Regions from separate parts of the Homo sapiens genome. Here regions 1, 2, 4, 5, 6 and 7 are each linked to region 3. The links are contacts of gene promoters, found by promoter capture Hi-C in blood cells and fetal thymus (Javierre and others, 2016). All regions are on one chromosome and are shown on one strand. The core of a region is centred on a gene start or on the middle of the fragment in contact, and the rest is flanking DNA. Distances in the headings are between cores, read along the strand shown. Region 1 overlaps RNGTT (RNA guanylyltransferase and 5'-phosphatase). Region 2 overlaps RNGTT (RNA guanylyltransferase and 5'-phosphatase). Region 3 holds the start of CGA (glycoprotein hormones, alpha polypeptide). Region 4 overlaps RNGTT (RNA guanylyltransferase and 5'-phosphatase). Region 5 overlaps RNGTT (RNA guanylyltransferase and 5'-phosphatase). Region 6 overlaps RNGTT (RNA guanylyltransferase and 5'-phosphatase). Region 7 overlaps RNGTT (RNA guanylyltransferase and 5'-phosphatase).

The links. Contacts are between HindIII fragments. The CHiCAGO score rates a contact against its expected background, and 5 or more counts as called.
Region 1: a fragment that was not itself captured here is called in contact with the fragment with the promoter of CGA in region 3 in 1 of 17 cell types (total B cells); the score reaches 5.5 in total B cells.
Region 2: a contact is called between a fragment that was not itself captured here and the fragment with the promoter of CGA in region 3, in 4 of 17 cell types (naive B cells, total B cells, M0 macrophages and 1 more). The highest score is 7.6, in naive B cells.
Region 4: a fragment that was not itself captured here is called in contact with the fragment with the promoter of CGA in region 3 in 1 of 17 cell types (total B cells); the score reaches 6.5 in total B cells.
Region 5: a fragment that was not itself captured here is called in contact with the fragment with the promoter of CGA in region 3 in 2 of 17 cell types (total B cells and naive B cells); the score reaches 6.5 in total B cells.
Region 6: a contact is called between a fragment that was not itself captured here and the fragment with the promoter of CGA in region 3, in 1 of 17 cell types (M2 macrophages). The highest score is 5.1, in M2 macrophages.
Region 7: a contact is called between a fragment that was not itself captured here and the fragment with the promoter of CGA in region 3, in 3 of 17 cell types (naive B cells, total B cells and total CD4 T cells). The highest score is 7.7, in naive B cells.

Annotation. Positions count from the first base shown.
Region 1 is chr6:88,797,763-88,800,932 of GRCh38, reverse strand. All of the region lies in intron 12 of RNGTT (RNA guanylyltransferase and 5'-phosphatase), which reads left to right. Among named protein-coding and RNA genes, the nearest start is that of RNGTT, 160 kb to the left of the region's middle. The HindIII fragment of the contact is 4,929 bases long and covers 1-3,170 here.
Region 2 is chr6:88,855,724-88,858,644 of GRCh38, reverse strand. All of the region lies in intron 8 of RNGTT (RNA guanylyltransferase and 5'-phosphatase), which reads left to right. Among named protein-coding and RNA genes, the nearest start is that of RNGTT, 110 kb to the left of the region's middle. The HindIII fragment of the contact is 1,302 bases long and covers 798-2,099 here.
Region 3 is chr6:87,093,759-87,096,962 of GRCh38, reverse strand. It overlaps CGA (glycoprotein hormones, alpha polypeptide), which reads left to right and starts at 1,857. Exons shown (of 4, transcript NM_000735.4): 1 at 1,857-1,950. The HindIII fragment of the contact is 11,698 bases long and covers 1-3,204 here.
Region 4 is chr6:88,919,887-88,922,900 of GRCh38, reverse strand. All of the region lies in intron 4 of RNGTT (RNA guanylyltransferase and 5'-phosphatase), which reads left to right. Among named protein-coding and RNA genes, the nearest start is that of RNGTT, 42 kb to the left of the region's middle. The HindIII fragment of the contact is 388 bases long and covers 1,429-1,816 here.
Region 5 is chr6:88,896,961-88,900,015 of GRCh38, reverse strand. The region is part of intron 6 of RNGTT (RNA guanylyltransferase and 5'-phosphatase); the gene reads left to right. Among named protein-coding and RNA genes, the nearest start is that of RNGTT, 65 kb to the left of the region's middle. The HindIII fragment of the contact is 3,959 bases long and covers 1-3,055 here.
Region 6 is chr6:88,779,299-88,782,228 of GRCh38, reverse strand. All of the region lies in intron 12 of RNGTT (RNA guanylyltransferase and 5'-phosphatase), which reads left to right. Among named protein-coding and RNA genes, the nearest start is that of RNGTT, 180 kb to the left of the region's middle. The HindIII fragment of the contact is 2,566 bases long and covers 222-2,787 here.
Region 7 is chr6:88,874,533-88,877,363 of GRCh38, reverse strand. All of the region lies in intron 8 of RNGTT (RNA guanylyltransferase and 5'-phosphatase), which reads left to right. Among named protein-coding and RNA genes, the nearest start is that of RNGTT, 88 kb to the left of the region's middle. The HindIII fragment of the contact is 1,701 bases long and covers 594-2,294 here.

The DNA of each region.
Region 1 (3,170 bases), core at 445-2,944, 1.7 Mb before region 3:
AGGATGTTTAGCAGCATCTGTGGTCTCTACTCACTAGATGCCAGGAGTATAGATGCCAGGAGCATGCTCCCTATTCCCATTTGTGACAACCAAAAATATAGTCTGACATTGCCCAGTTTCCTCAGAGAACATAATTGGCCCTACTTGATAACCCATGTTCTGTAGGACGGTGTTTTTCAAAATGTGGCCTGTAGAGGAGGATTAGCACCACCCAGGAAGTTTCACAGATGCAGCTCAGCCCCACACCTATTGAGTAGAAACTCTGGGGATGGAGTTTAGCGGTTTGTGTTTTGACAAGTTCTCCAAGTGATTCTAATGCATGTTCAAGTATGAGAGCTACTTACTCTATAGGAAAGAGTTTATTTCATGTGCAACCACCTCATCATATGCTGCTTTTTTTCTTCACCAACTCTTCTTTTAGTAATTAGAGTATAAGCTAGTTGAGAATTTATATATGGAGACATCAGACTGGGTGCCTGGGGTCAAAGAAAGGGAACTAATAATTTGAACACAGTGTATTAAATACTGTACAGGTTGAGTATCTCTAATTCAAAGACTGATATGCTATAAAATTTATAATGTTTTGAGCACCAGCATGATGCTCAAAGGAAATGCTCGTTGGAGCATTTTGGATTTTTGTATTAGGGATGCTCAACTGTTAAGTATATATAATGCAGATATTCCCCAATCTGAAAAAAATCAGAATCCAAACCACTTCTGGTCCTAAGCATTTCAGAGAAGGCATATTCAACCTATGCATGTAAAGCATTATATCTTTACGTGTGTAATAAATCTCTGCTAAAATGCAAATTTAGAGACAATGTGATATGTGATTGGCATCTGTCTGTCTTCTAGCCCCCCTTGCCAAACAAAGAACAGAAATATCTTCTGTGGTTAAGGGAGGAGGAGAGGGAGGAGGACATGGAGGAGCACTAGAGGTTAGGGACGGAAATGGAAGAAAATACTATTTTAGGAAAATTAAAGTTGAATCTTTTAGTTCTAATATATTCCAGTCTCCCTAGACTGAAAGAAGCAAAGTCTAAATATAACAATAAATTCAGAAAATTTCAGTGTGTGAAACTCATGGTTCAGATCTGTACATATATGGCATATGTAGGAAAAATGGCCTGACAAATAAGTGAGTCTCTTTCTTGGATGTCTAGTATAGGCAGTTGATTTGTCATTCCGTTCCCTTTCTAGTAACCATACTTTTTTTTTTTTTTTTTTTTTTTGAGATGGAGTTTTGCTCTTGTTGCCCAAGCTGAAGTGCAATGGCGCAATGTTGGCTCACTGCAACCTCTGCCTTCTGGGCTCAAGGGATTCTCCTGCCTCAGCCTCCTGAGTAGCTGGGATTGCAGGTGCGCACCACCATGCCCGGCTAATTTTTTGTATTTTTAGTAGAAACGGAGTTTCACCATGTTAGCCAGGCTGGTATTGAACTCCTGATCTCAGGTGATCCGCCTACCTTGGCCTCCCAAAGTGCTGGGATTACAGGTGTGAGCCACCGCGCCGGGCCGTAACCACACTTTTTATTACAATGACTTTGTAATTGATATCTGGTATTAAGTCAAGTCTCCCTGTTCGCCAGCATTACCTTAAATATTTGTTGACAATTGGTTTAACGTGAAAGTTTCAGAATCAATTTGTCATGCTACCCAGAAATTTTTGTTAGGAGTTTAATTGGAACATCTTTGAATTTAGATTAACGTGGAGAAAATTGATGTGTTTGCAATGTTAAATCACTTTCTCAATGAATGCTATGGCTTTTTTTTTTCAGGTCTTTTTCTGTTCTGTAACTGAGTTTAAGTTTTTTATTATTGTTATGGTAACTTCTAAATATTTGTCATTTTCTGCTTTTGTGGTAAATTGTGTCTTTTTTTATTGCTACTTCTAGTACACTGCCACATTATTGATTTATTTTATTGATTCAACAATCCTGTTGAATTCTGTTAGTTCTCATCATTGTCTAATTTTACACATTGACCAGGACCTCTAGTATTGAATTAAGTATTAGTTCTAGTTAGATAAGGGAGAAGACATTTATACCTTCTTCTCAACCTCAAAGGGAATGTAACTAAATTTTCTCCATTAAGTATGTTTGTGGTAGATTTCTGTTAGATATCCTTTATTGTGTTAAGAAATTTCTGATTCTGTTCTTCCAATAATTCTTTTTAAAATCATAAACAGGTTTTGGGCTTTAACACCTTTTAAAGCATTAATTTTAAGGCAGTAATGCCTCTTCGGTATCTACTAAGGTTATCATGTCATTTTCATTTTTACACCATTTATGTAGTAAATTACACTGATTTTTCTCATGTTGACCCATCCTTGCATTCCTGGGATAAATGCTACTTGATCATGATATATATAATTTTTTAAGCATACTTTTGGATCTAGGTATAATTGCTTCTTGAGGATTTCTGCCACCTTATTTCTTACAGTTCATTTTTCTCTCTTTTTTTTTTTTTGAGACAGGGTCTCACTTTGTTGCCCAGGCTGGTGTGCAGTGGCACAAACATGGCTTACTGCAGCCTCGACCTCCTGGGTTCAAGCAATCCTCGCACTTCAGGTCCCCAAGTAGCTGGGACTATAGGCGCGCACCACCACGCCTTGCTAATTTTTGTATTTTTCGTAGATACGGGGTTTTGCCTTGTTGCCGAGGCTGGTCTAAAGCTCCTGAGCTCAAGCAATCCGCCTGCCTCAGCCTCGCAAAGTGCTGGGATTACAGGTATGAGCCACTGTACCCGGCCAATTTTTCTCATTTTTTATATTCAGAATAATGAAGGTAATATTTTTTATTGTTGAAAAAATTATGTAAGTTGCACATAATCCATGGTAATGCCTATCCATGATTTAAAAAAACCAATTAAATGAGTGATTTGTGCTGAAAAATAGAACAGTCTCTTACCAAACAGTCTCTTACCTTTTTCTGCACTCTGAGTACTACTCCTAGGAGGCAATTATTTTCCTCTTTTTTTTTTTTTTTTTTTTGGCTTTTGCTTCTACAGTTCTACACAGTCTATGCTGTTCTTTTTTGGTTTTGTATTTTATACATAATCTGCTTACTTTGTACTGTGGAAGAATAGGATTGAGCCCTCTAATTCCACTAACCCCCTCCACACCCCTTTCTCCTTCTGTCATTCTATTGTAATTACATCACATATTTGGTC
Region 2 (2,921 bases), core at 199-2,698, 1.8 Mb before region 3:
GAAAATGGGGATAATAATTTTACTGACCTGGTGAGGTTGTTGTAAGGATTAAATGAGTTAATAAATGAGTTAATAAAAGTGCTCTTTTCTTCAGAACATAGTAATTGCTCAGTAAGTGTAACCTGTTGTTATTATCAGCTATGCATGAATTCCTCTGGAATGCCTTCCATGATCTCCAAACTCTGACAGGCTCTACCTTTGTAGGCTCCTGTAATAGCTTCTTCTTCACTGTTCTAATATGTATTATGGTTGGAATTATTTAATATCTTGTTTTCTTTTTAAGAGTGTAAATGATGTGAAGTTGAGAAGAGAGTCTGTGCCATTTGCTGTTATAACCCTAGCATCTAGTACTGCCTAGCATCTAGACTGGCTCCAGGTCGGCCCTTTAACTTATATTTTAAAAAATAATTGATTAAAAAATTTAAGAGAAAAGCCATAATAAGTTTGATAGGGGCTAGGAAAAATGGATAGAGATAGAGATGGTGGTGAAATAAATCAATGTAAATGATCAGCTTTTCTGTTTTTATTGCCCATCAAAATGCTCTAGTATGGAGGCTGTATGACAGAAGAAGAGGAATATCTGTTGTTTTGAAGCCACTGTGGTACAAAGAACAAGGGTTAGAATCCTGTCTTAATTCATTGCCACTTTGCAAAGGGAAAATGTTTCTCTGGGTCTGATTATAGACTACATTTCTGGCTTGGTGGCTTTTTTCCCCCTTGTAAAGCTTTAATTTTGCCCCCTGTGTCTAAAAGCAATTTGTGTTTATTTCTAAAAATTTTGAAAGTACAGAAAAGCTTAATGAGGAAAGCAAATATCATTGATAATTCTAATACATAGAGATGGGGCAGCTCTTACTATTTTGGTATAGGCTTTACTCTATATTTACGATATACATACAGTTTTGTCCTCCTCCTTTCCTCTGTAATTATTTAATGTATTCTGGTTTTAAACTTGCTTTTTTCCCACTAAATATATTGTAAATCTCTTTCCATATTAATGAATATTTTTATCATTGTTTAAAAAATGCTTGACTAGTATGCTTTTACATGAATATGCAATATTTATTTTACCTATTTGCTGAATGATGGACATTTGAGTTTTTATCCTTTCACTGTTATAAAATATTATGATGAACTTTGTTGTACATACAGCTTTGCTTAACAAATATTGAGTGCCTTCCTTTAGTGTGTATTCAGGTAGACTGTGCAAGATACTTAAGCTGTGAGAAGGAACAAAATAGATAGGATTTCTGCCTTCATAGAGTATAAGATAAATTCCTGAATTGATGATCAGAGTTGGGTCTAAATTGGTGATAACTTTAAATTACCAGGAGTTTAACGACCATTTTACTCTCAGACTACTGGGAGGAATGTGAATTAGGACTCTAAGGTGGTATTAGTTACCATTGTTTTCTGTCAGTTTTCCTTCTCTTTAATTATGTACTTCCTAATTTTATTAATGTATATTTGGTTGTTTTACTTAATTATATATCTCACATCTCAGCAACTGCTCTGAAAGATTATTTCCAGTTTTGGTAGAAAACCTGCATTTACAGTAAAGTAGTCTATACATCTGGCTTTTCTGTAATCCATATACCTTTGGTTTATATACTTTAGCATTTTCTATCTGGGAAACGTATACTGAATTAAATTTTGCCTTTTAATGGGAATGAATGAATATAATACAAATACCTATTGATAATTCTGAATATTAAATTTGCAGTTGAGATAATTTCCTAATTAATAAGAAATTATATTGCATCATAGTTATATACTAAGGCAGTATCTGACAGTTTGTGAGGTAGTTGCTTCTTTTTAAAGAATCTGGCTGCTTTCAGGGACTTTGGAGTGATGTGGAAATATTTCCACATTCCTTACATGAAATAGCTCCTTACTTTTTGTTAGTATCGCATAACAAAAGAACATATGATTTGGAATGACTGGAGTTCAAACTAAAAATCATAGCTCAGGAACTTGTGTTCCAAAGCCTGAAAATTTATGTGTGCAGAAGAATCCCTAAATACCAAGTGCTAAATAATTTCTCTGGTGTTTCTGCAGATGCAGAAGCTATCCTTTTGTAAATCCCGTCCTCTAAAGCTTTTTCTTCCTTAGTCTTTTAAATCTGTTTATACACATGTGTGCATAGAAAATATTTTCTTTTGATTGATACTCTACTTGATTTAAAAGAAAAGGTCTGATACTAAGATGTGTGTGTGTGTGTGTGTGTAAAATAAATACATCTTCACCCTGGGATAATACCTATTGTGTTTAAACATTAAATTTAAAATTCTCAACTTCTGGGCAGTCAGTGAAAGGGGAAATATAATTTCAGTTATCATTATTACATGATCATAAGAGTAAACCATTTCTTTTTTCTGAATTCTAACATTTATTAGCTTAAGTCAGCTTTTCTCAAATTGTAAGTATAGAATACCAATTCTGTCAAATTTTAACAGATATCAGGATTAAGTTTAGGAAACAATGGACTAAATAAGATGAACAGATTTATTTATATATTTTATCATAACTTTAAATATCCTAATATATATCTTGACGTTCTAAGAGAAAGATACAGTGGTTTCCTAACTTATTTGCCTTGAAATACCCTTTTGGTGAATATCAGCTTTGCAAAATGCCAGCCTAAGTCCTTAACAACATGATGGGTTGTGTGTCTTCCATGCCATTTTTGCAGATGATGTCATCATTGCTTTTTATTTGATCTTCCCTTTTGTTGATTTAAATTCCTTTTGAAACATAATCCAAGGCAAAGCTTACTTCTTCCAAGTAGCTTAGATTCTCTCTATCCACCAGGAATTGCTGCTTTTGAAAAGCATGTGCCAGAGGGTCTTGCGAACTAAGTATTCCTGTTGTCTGTGTGCCAGCTGGCCTGGCATTTGGTCTAGGAGTCTTTCAGATACACA
Region 3 (3,204 bases), core at 608-3,107:
ATGGAGACTTAAATATAATTTGTTTGTATATACATAGAGTATCTGCAGAAACACAAGTAAGAAACTGGAAACATTGCTTCTGAGTAGAATAATTGAGGAAATGGGGAAGATAAGTCAGGTGTTAAAGGCACTGACTTTTGTATTATTTATGTAGCCACATCACTAAAAAAATTAAAAAACAGTATGTAAACTTTAAAAACACAATAAACATTTTCATAAGAATTCCCTAATATTCATAATTCTTATATAGAAATGTGAAATAAAAATAAAATCCACTATGAAATCATAAGCCAAACAAAAATAATTTAATAAGAGCATCCTAGAAACATTGTTTCTATGTAATCATTCAGATAAAAAAGAAATAAAAGGATGTAAAGAAGGCACAAATAAAAGAGAAAGAATAGAACAAAGAAGAGTGAAATGCCTAGATGGAAAGATTTTCAAAATAAGTCTGCTACATTGAAAATATACTGCCAGTTGGTTGATATTTAAATGTAGAAATTCTTGAATAATGGTGGCATCAATCATCACTAGGAAGGCCCGGCACGGTGGCTCATGCCTGTGATCCCAGCACTTTTGGAAGCCGAGGTGGGTGGATCACTTGAGGTCAGGGGTTAAACCAGCCTGGCCAACATGGTGAAACTCCTGTCTCTACCAAAAATACAAAAATTAGCCAGGCATTATGGCGCACACCTGTAGTCCCAGCTACTCGGAGGCTGAGGCAGGAGAAGTGCTTGAACCCGGGAGGTGTAGACTGCAGTGAGATTGTGCCACTGCACTCCAGCTTGGGAGACAGAGCGAGATTCCGTCTCCCCCACTCGTCCCCCAAAAAGGAGCATCACTAAGAAAAGGTGAATGGTTGGGATGCATACTGGAAGGAAACAACGGAAATCTGAAAAGGTGTAAGAACCTAAACAAATTTGTTTATCACAGAAAATAAATCACAAAACAACTTTGCGTTCTTTGGCAAGTTTCTTTATGTTAAACAAGAATTGCTTTTTGCATCACATAGATCTTCTAAACTCTTTGTTGAAGAGGTCCTTGGTAGTCTGTATCTAAGCCAGTTCCTTACGGAAGTGGCACTGAGCGGAGTAGATAAAGATAGGAACTTTTGAAGGGTCATAATCTCTGTGTGCAAAAAAGAAGCCACAGTAGTCTGAAGAGCTGTGCAGGTTTTAGGGTGACACTGGGTTGGGAACCTTGGAGCTAAGTGTCCCACACCTGGCAAGCCATGACATACATATTTTCTGTTCAGGCAGAAACTGAGCTTTACAAAAGTGAAATGAGAAAAAAAAAAAAACCAAAAACCAGGCACGTATATTGAGAACCATTCAGTCCTTCTTAGAATTGCCTCATACCTTTCTCATGCATCTTTATTAAATTCAGATGCAAATTAATTTTAGAAAAGTCTAAATAGGTGTGTGTTTTATTTTTCTGTTTCCTAATTAAATAGTGGTATAAGCCTGGAAATGCTCTATATCTATTTTCGGAAATCTATAGCTCTTGTTTAGGTAAATATCAGGTACTTAGCTAATTAAATGTCTCTTGTTTATAGGAAAGTGTCAGCTTTCAGGATGTTATGTGTATGGCTCAATAAAATTACGTACAAAGTGACAGCGTACTCTCTTTTCATGGGCTGACCTTGTCGTCACCATCACCTGAAAATGGCTCCAAACAAAAATGACCTAAGGGTTGAAACAAGATAAGATCAAATTGACGTCATGGTAAAAATTGACGTCATGGTAATTACACCAAGTACCCTTCAATCATTGGATGGAATTTCCTGTTGATCCCAGGGCTTAGATGCAGGTGGAAACACTCTGCTGGTATAAAAGCAGGTGAGGACTTCATTAACTGCAGTTACTGAGAACTCATAAGACGAAGCTAAAATCCCTCTTCGGATCCACAGTCAACCGCCCTGAACACATCCTGCAAAAAGCCCAGAGAAAGGTAATATGAATGAAATAATTTTGGGGGACTTTAATTGAGGAGTAAAATATTTGAGAATATGAGGAAGATTCCAAAGTCTCTGCATATACCTTAATAAGAACTGAGACAGGCTTTTACTCATTCTCTTTTCAGCACTTATGATTGAATTAGAAGGAAGTCTGTAAAATTTGGCTGTGATCATAGGGTAAGATGTTATCTAACAGAAGCCAGAAACCCAATGTCTCCTGCTGAGATGCTTGAGTGCCTGTCAGGATCTAAAAATTTTCCTCAAGAATTACTGTATGTCATTGGAAAGACGTTCTTTTGAGTGGCTTCCAGGAGCCAGACAGAGGGCAAGTAGACATTATGATATTGTTTTATTATCCATTTTTAAGTGATGTATAGCTATATCTTCAAGCTGGCCCATGATAAAGTGGTTCACTTGTTCAGCTGAATGACTATAGCTTCTGATTATCTTTTGAATAGATGTTCTCATGCAGACTTGAATAGTAGCATGGAATTTCTTGAATGTCGTTGTTTTCATTTTTCTTCTTTAATAAAATGCTACAAAAATCAAAGTTGGTAGTATTTCTCTAGCTATTATTCATGAATTTGCAATGATAAGTCACTTGCCCAAGTCTAATTGATTAGTTCCAATGAGTTTCTGGAAACTTTTTTGCAGCTAACCTTGGTTATCTTAGCATTAGCATTAATTGGTGGCTGATTGGGAAATAGACACTAGAAAATAAAAGACCTTTTTTGTCCCTCCTTATTAGCGTTGAAGAATAGGCTATGGGCACGTGTGAAGAACTATGGGCTGACACTATATGGGTCCCTTAGGAATGCAGAAGCTCCCTTTCATCTCTGTAGATATTTTGTTTCTTAAGCTCTTCAATCTTTTTCCCAGTCAAAAGTCAGATATTTTGCTTTAGAAAAGGAATCTTTTAAAGTTTCTGAAAATATCTTTTAAATAATTACTTGACTTAATACCAATTCAATTATTCATAATATTGGTCAACCAAATTGCATGTAATACATTGCTATATTCTTGAATTATTTAAAAAAGACAAGAGTGGTCATCATTTATAAAAGGTTCGTGGTTTTTCATGTTAATTTCAACTTTGGTTTTCTTAAGTTTATTATTTTTTTTGCAGTAAGAGTCATTGAAATTTTAAGTGAGTCATATTCCTTACCATTTCCTGCTGAAAAGGGTAGTGTGTGAGAAAAATGTTAGAAAAGCAATTAATTATGTTCCAGAGCAGATTTTCAGTTGCA
Region 4 (3,014 bases), core at 373-2,872, 1.8 Mb before region 3:
TTGATTGCATTTAAAAGAGCGAATCAGGGACACTTGAGATACCTAACAAAAAATGCAGTTTGTAGGTATTGTTGGATCCTGGTTTGAAACATTAACTTTATCCCAGTACTTTGGGAGGCCGAGGCGGGTGGATCACAAGGTCAGGAGATCAAGACCATCCTGACTAACATGGTGAAACCCTGTTTCTAATAAAAAAATACAAAAAATTAGCTGGGCGTGGTGGCGGACGCCTGTAGTCCCAGCTACTTGGGAGGCTGAGGCAGGAGAATAGCATGAACCCGGGAGGTGGAGCTTGCAGTGAGCCGAGATTGCGCCACTGCACTCCAGCCTGGGTGACAGAGCGAGACTCCATCTCAAAAAAAAAAATTTTTTTTTAAGGTAATTGAGGAAATCTAAAAACAAACTAGGTTCTAGATGACGTTAAGGAATTTATAACTCTTCTTTTGGTATAATTATTGCATGGTAATCATATGAAACCCAGAGTCCTTATTAGAGATGTGTATTGAAACATTTTTAGTGACATGACATGTCTGTGACTTGCTCTAAAATGTAGTTTAAGGTCATTAAAATGCTAATTACTCTGATTTGATCTTTATACATTGTAGACATGTATTGAAATATCACACTCTACCCCATAAATATGTATTTATATATTTATAATACAGTTATTATGTATAAATTAAAAATAATAGTAAGAGCTGGGCCCAGTGGCACATGCCTGTAGTCCCAGCTACTTGGGAGCTAAGGTGGAAAGACTGCTTGAGCCTGGGAGTTGAAGTCCAGCCTGGACAACATAGCCAGACCTGGTCTCTAAAAAATTATTTAATATAATAATAATAAAGGCAAAAAAAAAATTAATGTGGTTGTTCCTCAGACTCCTCAGGGGATTGGTTCTAGGATCCCCCTCAGATACCAAAATCCTCTGATGCTCAGTGCTCAAGTGCCTTGTATAAAATGGCATAGTATTTGCATATGACCTATGAACATCCTGCCGTTTTCTTTGAATCACCTCTAGGTATTACTTATAATACCTAATACAATGTAAGTTCTATGTGAACAGTTACTATATTGTATTTTTAAATTTGTATTATTTTTTACTGTATTTTTTATTGAGTTTTTTCCCAAATATTTTTAATACAGATATAGGAAGGCCAATTTACTCCAAAAATATTATTAAGGGTGGAGGATGAAAAAAAATCAGCAAAATGATAATTACCAAAGAGGGATGATGGATACATGAGGTTTCATTTTTCTATTCTCACTGCTTTGGGTATGTCTGCAAATTTCCATAATAAAAAAAAAATTTGAGAGTACTGCCCCAGAGAAGCTAACAGTATGGTAAAAATTGAAAACATCTGGTTCTAAGGGTTTCAGATAAGGGACTATGAAGCTGTAGTTACTGCTAAGGATTAGAAAAGGTTTCAAGCTTCTGTGTGTTTCAAGAACTTTATATTTCCATGAAGCCTACAGCATTAGCCCACAGCCTCACCAATTATCAACTGATAACTGAATCAGTTGTCAACTGTAATTGATAAATTAACAATTATATCAGCTAATTCAAAGATTACTTTTTTTTTTTTTAAAGACCAGGTCTCACTATGTCACCCAGGCTGGGATTTTTTTTTAAAACCAAGACAGCTTTGAAAAGAAACCTGAGTCTAACCTTTGCCACATCACAAATGTTTACTACTGGTCACAAATATTGATCAGCAAGAGTTTGTGCAAGGCTGATAAAAATTCCTTCTCTGAAACTAAAAATAAATGAAAGTACTATAAAAGCAGGACAGTATTTTCAGATCCTAAGACTACTTAAGCTTGATTCTTTAGTGCTTTTTATTTAGAAAGGTGTTATCAGCAATCAGTTCTGAGACTAGTTTCTGTTATTGTCTCTACAGTAATACTATAAGAAATAACTGGCAATACATCCTGTGCTCCAAAATTTGGCAGGCCCAAAGCAAATGTTTCCAATTCAATCCACATGAACAGAATCACTGCCGGGAATATAAAACAAAATATATATATATCACTAGGTTCTATAAATTTTATAACCTGTAAACACTCAAAACAATTAGAAGTTTTTCTTATCAGTTCTTCTAAGAATACAACTGCACAATTTATAACAAGGATGAATTTGTTTTCCTAAACCTGGAGTATGAATCTTTCTAAAATCATGACATCTAATGCCAGAGGTTAAAATTGCTTGACTGCCCTCCTTTGAATTCATTAAGCATATTTAATGTTTACCCCTATAATGGCTTCTCTCAAATGAGAAAACACTTCTGTGAGTTGTTTTTACTTATTCAGATAAAGGCCTCAGTATTACCTTAAGCTGTGTAGGTTCTAGTCATATACCTCAATATATGTGTATGTATGTGTGACTGTTATATATATTCATATAAATGTATGAATATATATACACACATCCTTAACATATTTCATGTATATCTCATAATATTGTTCTGTTAAATAATAGCTGCATACTGTACCATATAAATAACCTGCTTTTTTCAAAACAACAAATACAGTATAGTAACTGTTCACATAGCACTTACATTGCATTAGGTATTATAAGTAATACCTAGAGGTGATTCAAAGAAAACGGCAGGATGTTCATAGGTCATATGCAAATACTATGCCATTTTATACAAGGCACTTGAGCACTGAGCATCGGAGGATTTTGGTATCTGAGGGGGATCCCAGAACCAATCCCCTGAGGAGTCTGAGGAACAACTGCATTAATTTTTTTTGCCTTTATTGTATTATATTAAATAATTTTTTAGAGACCAGGTCTGGCTATGTTGTTCAGGCTGGACTTCAACTTCATCCCACAAATTGTAACAATTAAAATTGTCTCTAGACATTACAAAATGTCCCCTGGGGGGCAAAATCTTCCCCAGTTGAGAACTACTGAATCCTCGGTGCAGTGGCTCACGCCTGTAATCCCAACACTTTGGGAGGCCGAGGCGGGTGGATCACCTGAGGTCAGAGTTTGAGACCAGCCTGACCACCATGGT
Region 5 (3,055 bases), core at 339-2,838, 1.8 Mb before region 3:
GAATTAGGAGCAGAATATCTTAATTAAGGATTGAGCTGTTAGAAACTAGACTTTAGTTTTGGGGCAGTGGTCTATTTTTGCTCTGCTCTTATTCCTATAGCCTGTGAGGATCTTCATTGAAAGTGTGGGGAATTAAATTGGACTCCTTCCACTTGAAGACCTGTAACTCCAGCTTTTATTTCCCATTGCTGTGATATTACTGAAATTTCTGTTCAGCTTCTTAGTGTCTTAGCTACCATTTTTGAAACAGTGCCTCTAGAGGAGAGTACTAGAAAGGAAAAGCTGTAGAAGATGTCTAGCTCACCTCTCTGGCCTCCCTTCCTCCTGAGTTTTTGGCCCTTCAAGTCCTTATTGCCTTTCTAATTCTCTGAGGTCTTCAAATGAATTCTTTAACATTGTCCAGCTTTTTTTTTTGTGGCTACAAAGTTAGTCTAATTAGGCTGGGTGCAGTTGCTCACACCTGTAATCTCAGCACTTTGGGAGGCCGAGGCGGAAGGATTGCTTGAGCTCAGGAGTTTGAGACTAGCCTGGGCAACGTAGTGAGACCTCGTATCTACAAAAAATTAAAAAATTAGCCAGGTGTGGTGGTGTGCACTTGTAGTCTCAGCTACTTATGAGGCTGAGGTGGGGTGGATTGCTTGAGCCTGGGAGGTTGAGACTGCAGTCAGTGAGCTGTGATCATGTCACTGCATTCACCTGCACTTCAACCTAGGTGACAGAGTGATAGGCTGTCTCAAAAAAAAAAAGCCGAAACCTTCTTTCTCTCTTTTTGGAGAAAGCAATTAGTCTTGATTTCTGTTATGAGTTGGTGATTTTTGAGAATATTTGTGCTTATACCTCCAAAGGCCGAATTAGGAAAAAAAAAAAGTTCTAAAACCTTATGCCTTTTGGTAGTTTTTTCTTTTTTCAAACCATAATTAGTAAATCCTAAAATTATTAAATATTTTACTCATATAAGTAATATATTAAAGATGAAAGAACATTAATCTTTAGTTTATTAAAGAAAGTTTGAAAACGAAAGAAAACTTATAATCCTTCAACTTTCATACTACCATTGGTATTGTTGTCTTTTTAGAATAATTTTTCCCTATTTACTTATTTATTTAGCTTTAAAACATACACAGATGACTTAAAGATGAGTTTTTTTTTTTTTGTAAAATATAAATGCAAACATCTAGGAGTATATAGAGTTAAAAGGCAAAATATTTCTTCATTCCCAAGCCATTTGCTCTGTACTTTTTGGTTATTTCTTTGCATATGCACAGAAAACATAGTATAGAAGAATAACTTAGTGTAGAAGAATATATACTGGGGAGATACATATATATAATATATATATATACACACACACACACAGTATATATACTAAAAATTATATATTGTAAAAATTAAGTCCTATATAAAAGTAATACTAGATATACTAAGAAAGGAAAAATTAAAAATTTTTCTATTTGAGAAAGCAAATAGAACCTTTCTTTAGAAGACAAGAGAGGCTATCAATCCATAAAATAATAGCAGGCTATTAAGAAGAGGAACAAATTAGAGATCTTGGAAATGATAAGATTAAAAAACCACTTAGTATGTGGGATGAGTAGCAGAATGAAATTATCAAGCTAGAGGATCTAGCTATGAAATCCTTCCAGCATGCAGCATGAAAAGACAAAAGAAATGTAAAATATGAGAAATAGTTTAGAATTAACTTAAAGGGAGCAATTTAACAGTATGATTTCATGGAGAGGACAAAATTCAATAAGGACGGAAAGTATTTATCTGAGGATTATTTTCTGTGGTGCAGTAGGGCTGGGTCAGACTGGTAATTTTAAGAAGCTAATGGAAGGCGAGAAAGTGGAGACTGAGTTGTGTTAGGGGTTCCCTGTACCACCCTCACTTCTGGAGATTTATTAGAATAACTCAGGACTCAGCATATGGTTGTACTCATAACTCAGATTTATACAGCAACGTACTAAGGATATACAGCTCAATCATAAGAGACAAAGACAAGTAGAGTCTGGGGGGAGTTAATGTGTAGGCTTTCTTGTGCTCTCTTTTTCTCATGAGGGGTCATCCTGAGCTCACTCTTCCTGCAGCAATGTATTTGTGATGTTTCTGTCCATGGAAGCTCATTACACTCTCACTGCTCAAGATTTTTATTGATGGCCGGTCATGTAGGCACTCTGTGCTTAGCATGTAGCAAAATTCCAGGATTCCAGGAGGAAAAAAATTTATTCAGCATAAACTGTATTTTTGGGACAAGTAATCTAGGTTTGGTGAGCCATCCTTATCAGTTGACTGAGAACACTCCAAAAGTCAAGTTCTCAGGTGCCATTCAGGAGCCAACTTTGCAAGCACTAGTGTTAGGTTAACCCTTTTCTGCACACTACTATAAACTATTCATTCAAGTGGCTTGGTTATGATAAAAAAAGGAGCAGAAGGGTAATTGATGCAGACATAGTCAGAAAAGGCTTTTTAGTATGGGATAAATTCAAGCATATTTATTAGTGTGGATAAGGAGCTAGTGAAGTCAATGAAGTTGAAAGTAAAGATTTGGGGAATAATGATAGAGAAATCTCTGAGGAAGTGCAAGGGAATGGAGGTCAAATGCAGTTTTTGGAGTAATAGGTCTTCAGCAATAGGAGGGAAATATCTTTCTTAGTACTGGAGATGTAATTGAGATTGTGATTTTTTCCTCAGTAAGTTTCAGCTGCCTATGTATGAGAGTGGAAAAGACTAACGGTAGGTTGACTCAAGGCTGGAGAAATTCAGTTTGGGTGTGATGAAGAACAAGAGGGTAAGGGGCACTGAGGCTGTCAGAGGAAAAATAATTGAAGTAATCAGCCATAGGTTCTAGGCTGAATAGGAAGTAAGGTCAGGATGAGGGTGCTGTTAGAATATGTAAAGGAGAAATGAAGGGACTGTTAGTCTTGGTGAAATTGAAAAGTGAGCAGAGTGACAGTAAAAGAGTTTATAGTGACATGTTAGTTTTAGAATGCTGTCGGCACTCAATCAATGTGAGTTGTATTGAATCAAAAGGTAGAGTGGTTTGAAATGATTGTGG
Region 6 (2,930 bases), core at 255-2,754, 1.7 Mb before region 3:
GAACTACCTCATGGAGCTATTTTGAGAATAAAGTGATTTAAGAACACTCAAACCAGTAACTGGTGAAAAGTGAAAAACTCAGTCGATGTTAGCCCTTAGAAGTTATTGCTGCCTTAATTATTCTGTGTAAAGGGCATAGTAGGGGATAAAACTAGAGAGGATGAATAAGGCTAGGTAAGTGGGCACGGGGAGGTGGTCTTTGGTTGTTAGGTTGAGAAGCTTGTATTATTTTCAGTAAACCATCTAACCAGATGGATTCAGGATCAGTTGTATTTGATAGGGCCTGTTGATAATAGGGATAACAGTTAGGTTGATCACAATAGCCTGGGTGAAAAAGTAATAGAGATAATTGGTGGAATATGGAATTGGTAGAGATCGCATCAAAGATGATTCGAGAGTTTTGAACCTTTCTGGTTAGGAGCATTATGTTAATCAGAAATGGAAATCAGAATGGAGATGAACTAGTTTTTTGTTTAAGAATATAAATGATTCAGTTTTAGATTTAAAACTTTAGGCTGCCTTTAGGGTACTAATGAATAAGCCAGTGCCTGGCATACTTTTATTTGGGAGAAAGTTAGGACAAAAGATGAAGATTTGGGAGTAATTTTCATTGTAAGTGTATTTGGAGTCTTAGAGGAGTGGATGCTGTATAATGTGTAACAGTGAAAAGACAAATAATAGATTCTTGAAGAATGTGCGTTCATAATTGATTCCATTGTTTTACTGTCTCTAGTAGCATTACTGTCTAGGATTTCTAAAGTTTTCTTTAAAAATAAATGCTGTAATAAAACTAATATTATAGTAAGGACAGGGATCTTTCTTAGCTTCAGATGTGATCTTTGTGAAGAAGGCATTATGTCTCAGGTTTTACTGTAGAACCTGGTGATAACTACTCACATTTTACTAGTGGAAATAATAGAATAACATAAGCCTGCAAGGTGTTTTTAGATATCTCTGGTCTAGATATCCTGTTTTAGGCAAGCAAAATGCTATTATTGCATTTTTACAAATGAGATAGATAAAGCCCACTTTGAACTTGCTTAAAATAATTACGTTAGTAGAGGCAAAGAGGGACTAAATACGTTGCTCCTTTGCCGTTACTAATGCTAGCTTCATTTACATCAGGTTTTCTCAGCCTTGGCACCATTGACATTTTGGGCTAGAATTCTTTGTTGTGGGCAGCTGCCCTGTGCTTTGTAGGATGTTTAGTAGCATATCTAGCCTTTAACCACTAGATGGCAGTAGCACCCCCTCCCCACCTCTTGTTCAACCAAAAATGTCTCCACGCATTGCCAAATATCCCTTGGAGGCAAAATCTCCCCTAGTTGAGAACCAGTGCTTTACACCACAAATATATATCATGTATACCTCCAGTTAGCTTCCTGTCCACCTTAGTTTTACAGACTTCTCTTTGGCATATGGCCATCTTCTACCTCTAAGCCAGGTTCTGTTCTCATCTGGTCAACACTTTCTTAAGCATCTTATTTTGCTGCCTGACGTTTACATTTATTATGTTTTTGACTTTACAATGGCAATGGATATCTTGGGTTATATTGGTAATTACGTTTACACCTAACATATCCCCAGTTTTTTTTTGACAGCTCACCTCATACAATCAGATTTATTTCTATAAACTAAGTATTGTATTTATCAGTTAACTATAGCTCTGATAATTATTTTAACCTAGATACATGCTGGTAAATTGAATTATATTACTCTGACTATACACGAGAACATGTAGAATGGTGTTTTTATATCCTTGTTTATAGTTCAGCAAGATTCTGTATTTCAAGTTTGATAAATCATAAATATTTATTTCTAAAAGGCTTATTCAGTTTCTGTATTTGTAATATATTTGCTCTTATTATTTTGGGGATCATGAAAAAGGGATTATTTGGTAGTGATTTATATAATCTTTCATAAATATTGTTAGCTTATTTCATAATCTCAGATATTTCATTTTTAAATTAAGTGTACCTGAGACAGATATTTTTGTAGTAAGTTTTGAAATTCTGTATTTTTAATTATTTTATTAAAGTATTTGAGCATTTTACTAGGTGTTTTGTAGGCACAAAATTGATGTGATTTTTTCTGAAGTAGAATTACATTCTAATGGGTATTTCAATATATTTTACTCATAGAATCTGTGTCATTGTTGAATCTACATTCAATAACTGGGAGCTACAGTATTCTTAAAATACCATTTTCTAGATTAATTAATTAATTTATTTATTTGAGACAGAGTCTCACCCTATTGCCCAGGCTGGCGTGCAGTGGTGTGATCTTGACTCACTGCAACCTCTGCCTTTCAGGTTCAAGCAATTTTCCTGCCTTGGCCCCCCCAGGTGGCTGGGACTACAAACATGCACCACCATGCCTAGCTAATTTTTGCATTTTTAGTAGAGATGGTGTTTCATCATGTTGGCCAGGCTGGTCTTGAACTCCTGACCTCAGGTGATCTGCCCGCCTTGGCTTCTCAAAGTGCTGGGATTACAGACGTGAGCCACTGCACCTGGCCCCATTTTCTAAAATTTTATAATCATTAATTTTCATAAAGGTGCTTTGAAATTCCTAATAATATCAAGTCTAGTATTCCAAATTAATATGAATGATTTGATGTGCAATGAGATGAGGAGTTACTTAAGTTTCTGAATTATTGCTGTGTAAAAACAGAAGAGTTGATACATGTTGTTTTCTTATTAGACAAAATTGAGTCTTGATTTCCAGGCAAGAGAATGTGAATGATATTTAATATCTGTTATATAAATAAAATTACATATTAAAGCTTTTTAGAATTTATCATTAGGTACCTATTAGGAGATATTTTAAAACTATACCATCATTCAACTTTTCTAGATTTAATAACTTAGATTGATATTGGTTTCTAAGTGTTCTTGTAGTCACTTACTATAAACAAGTAGGAAACGGAA
Region 7 (2,831 bases), core at 195-2,694, 1.8 Mb before region 3:
ATCAGTGACCCAATTCAAAGTAGTATTTAGCCAGCTATTGAGTTAAGAACATATCTGAGAATTTCTCTGTTAGTTGGTGGAGACCCACATAAAATGCTTATTATACAGCACTCAATGCATATTAGTTATTGTTGTTATAACTGAAGACTGTTTTGAAAACCATTATTACATGAGAACCAACATTGATTTCCCAGAGTTCACTCAGAATTCTTTTAGGGTGTGGTATAGTTATTGCACAAGAAGAAAATTAAGCAAAGGCAAAACAATCTAACATTTTAAAACCAAATCTTTGAAATACCCATTGGTTAGTAGTCACATCTTTAGGATTTACTAAAGGATAAAAAGGTCCCTTAAATAGCAGTTTCTTTAATCAAATCCTAAGTATGAGAGTTACTACTAGTTAATAGAGATACTGTCTTTGAAATGGTATTTAAAAATAAAAACCAACCAAATTTATTACCTATTACCAAAATCTGCTAGAGAACTCTTAGAGCTGAGCAGATACAGATAAAACTTTGATTGCAAACATAGGTGCAACCCTAACTCAGAATTTTCAGTTGGCCAGGTTCTGGGGGCAGCAAACATGTGAAGCTTTGAAAGATTAAAACAAATGAATTTTTCGTTAATATTTTCAAACATTTTTTCCCCTATATAGAGCTGGGCTACTGGACCCAAACAAATGAGAAACAAGGAATACAGGATAAAGAGATTGAATTTGTCTCTTTGTTCATTCATGTAGTTAACAAATATTTATTGAACATTTACCATATGCCAGAGATTGTGCTAGCTATGATAGGCTTAGCAGGTAATTAGAACTAAACTATATGATGATGATGATGATTGTTTTTTGAGACAGGGTCTCACTGTTTTGCCTAGGCTGGAGTGGAGTGGCACACTCATGCCTCACTGCAGCCTCGACCTCCCACCTCAGCCTCCAGAGTAGCTGGGACTATAGGCGCGTGCCGCCACACCCAACTAATTTTTGTCTTTTTTTTGTTGTTGAGATAGGGTTTCCCCGTGTTGTCCAGGCTGGTCTCAAACTCCTGGGCTAAAGTGATCTGCCTGCCTTGGCCTCCCAAAGTGTTGGGATTACAGGCCTGAGCCACAATACTCAGGCATGATTATTTTTGTATGCTGCTTTTTATCTTAACATGAGTATATTTCATTGTTATAACATGTATTTTTAAAATGACTTAATTGCTGCCAAGAAAAAATAGTTCACCCTCGATTATAGGGGCATTTAGACTCCAGTTTTTTTGTTGCTATAAATAACTGTACTGATCTTCTTATACCCATCTTTGCATAAATTTTGACAAAAATAGTATTACTTAGATATAGTATGGAAACCTTTGAAGTCCTTGATATACCTTGCTAGAGGTTGTAGTGATACACTCCGAACAGCAGTGCTTGAGTGTACATCCTTGGCAATTTGGGGTAGTTTCACTTAATATAAGTAATGTAGCCAAGTTGACAATTGGAAAATGAATTTTTTTCTTAAAAGATTTTATTGATGTAAAAATTAAAGGAAAATGAATTTTAAAATTGCTTTGATTAGCAGTTTTTTTTGAATACTAGTGTGGTTGCACAAGTTCATTCTGTATTTTGGCTATAGCAACAGTTATAACAAGTAATACTTGTTGAACACTTAATGTGTATTAGGCATTGTTCTGAGTACTTTACATAGAACATTTATCTCATTTAATACTCACAACGCTGTAAGATAGCATTGTGAATAAGTAGCTTTTTCAAGGTCACAGACACAGTTATTGTAAGTAGCAGGACTGAGATTTGAATGCAAGTGATCTGGCCCCAGAGCCCAGAATCCTTTTTGCCAGGTCATGTCCTCATTATTTTTTCAATATTTTGATAGTTATTTTTACTGTTTTATGCTAATAGATGAATTTTTCTGTCTTAAAATATATTTTTTCTGATAATGTCTTCTGTCTTCCTCATAAAACATTAAAAAGAAATTAAAAAGTTCTCCCTGTGAGAACTTTTATCCCACCCCTTGGGATAATCAATATTAAGAGTTGGATGTTTGGTTTCTCGAGACATTATACCTTCATCTTCTTACCTGCTGTTTTCTTTCCTTACTTTCTGATCCTCCATATAATGGGATATGATATAGGCTGTTCTCTTATAAATAAATAATAGAAAAACTCTATTATTTTTTTTTCAAATTGCTTTGTGATGGTAATTCAAATTGCATTGCTCCTTTCACTTAATGGGATAATAAATATATTTGCAGACAATATTTACTGCTTTAATAGATAACTGTTAAGCTACTGTAAGCTTTAGAAGGTCTCAAAGACAATACAAGACACTAGAGGAAAGTAAAAGTACAATTCCTACTCTCAGCAGGAAAATGAAGTACAATTTAAGATGTAGTAAGAGATATAACAAAACTATGTATAGTACCAGACAACTAAGTAAGAGATACTAAAGAGCTAATAAAGAGCATTACTTGATACTGTATATGAAATATGACTGCTTGTTTTGATTTTAAGAGTGTGATATTGGGTGTTCATAGATGGATTTTTAAATTTTATATAGGAAATAAGTAAGATATATTTAGTATTGAATATTGATATTTAGTATTGAGTAGTGCTGCTGACCAGATGGAAGAACATTTGCTTTGACCCATCTCAGCAGTAGAGCTTATCTGTTAGATGAGGTGTTAACTGGATTTTCATATTTTTTTTTTTTACGATTCTGTGATACTTTCTTAACTCATTATTTGCTCACATACTCTTATTCATTATGTGTGATTATGGAAGTGGCAAATGCTGGCTTGGATAAAAAAGGGGAAAAAACTTTATCCTCTTTGTGAA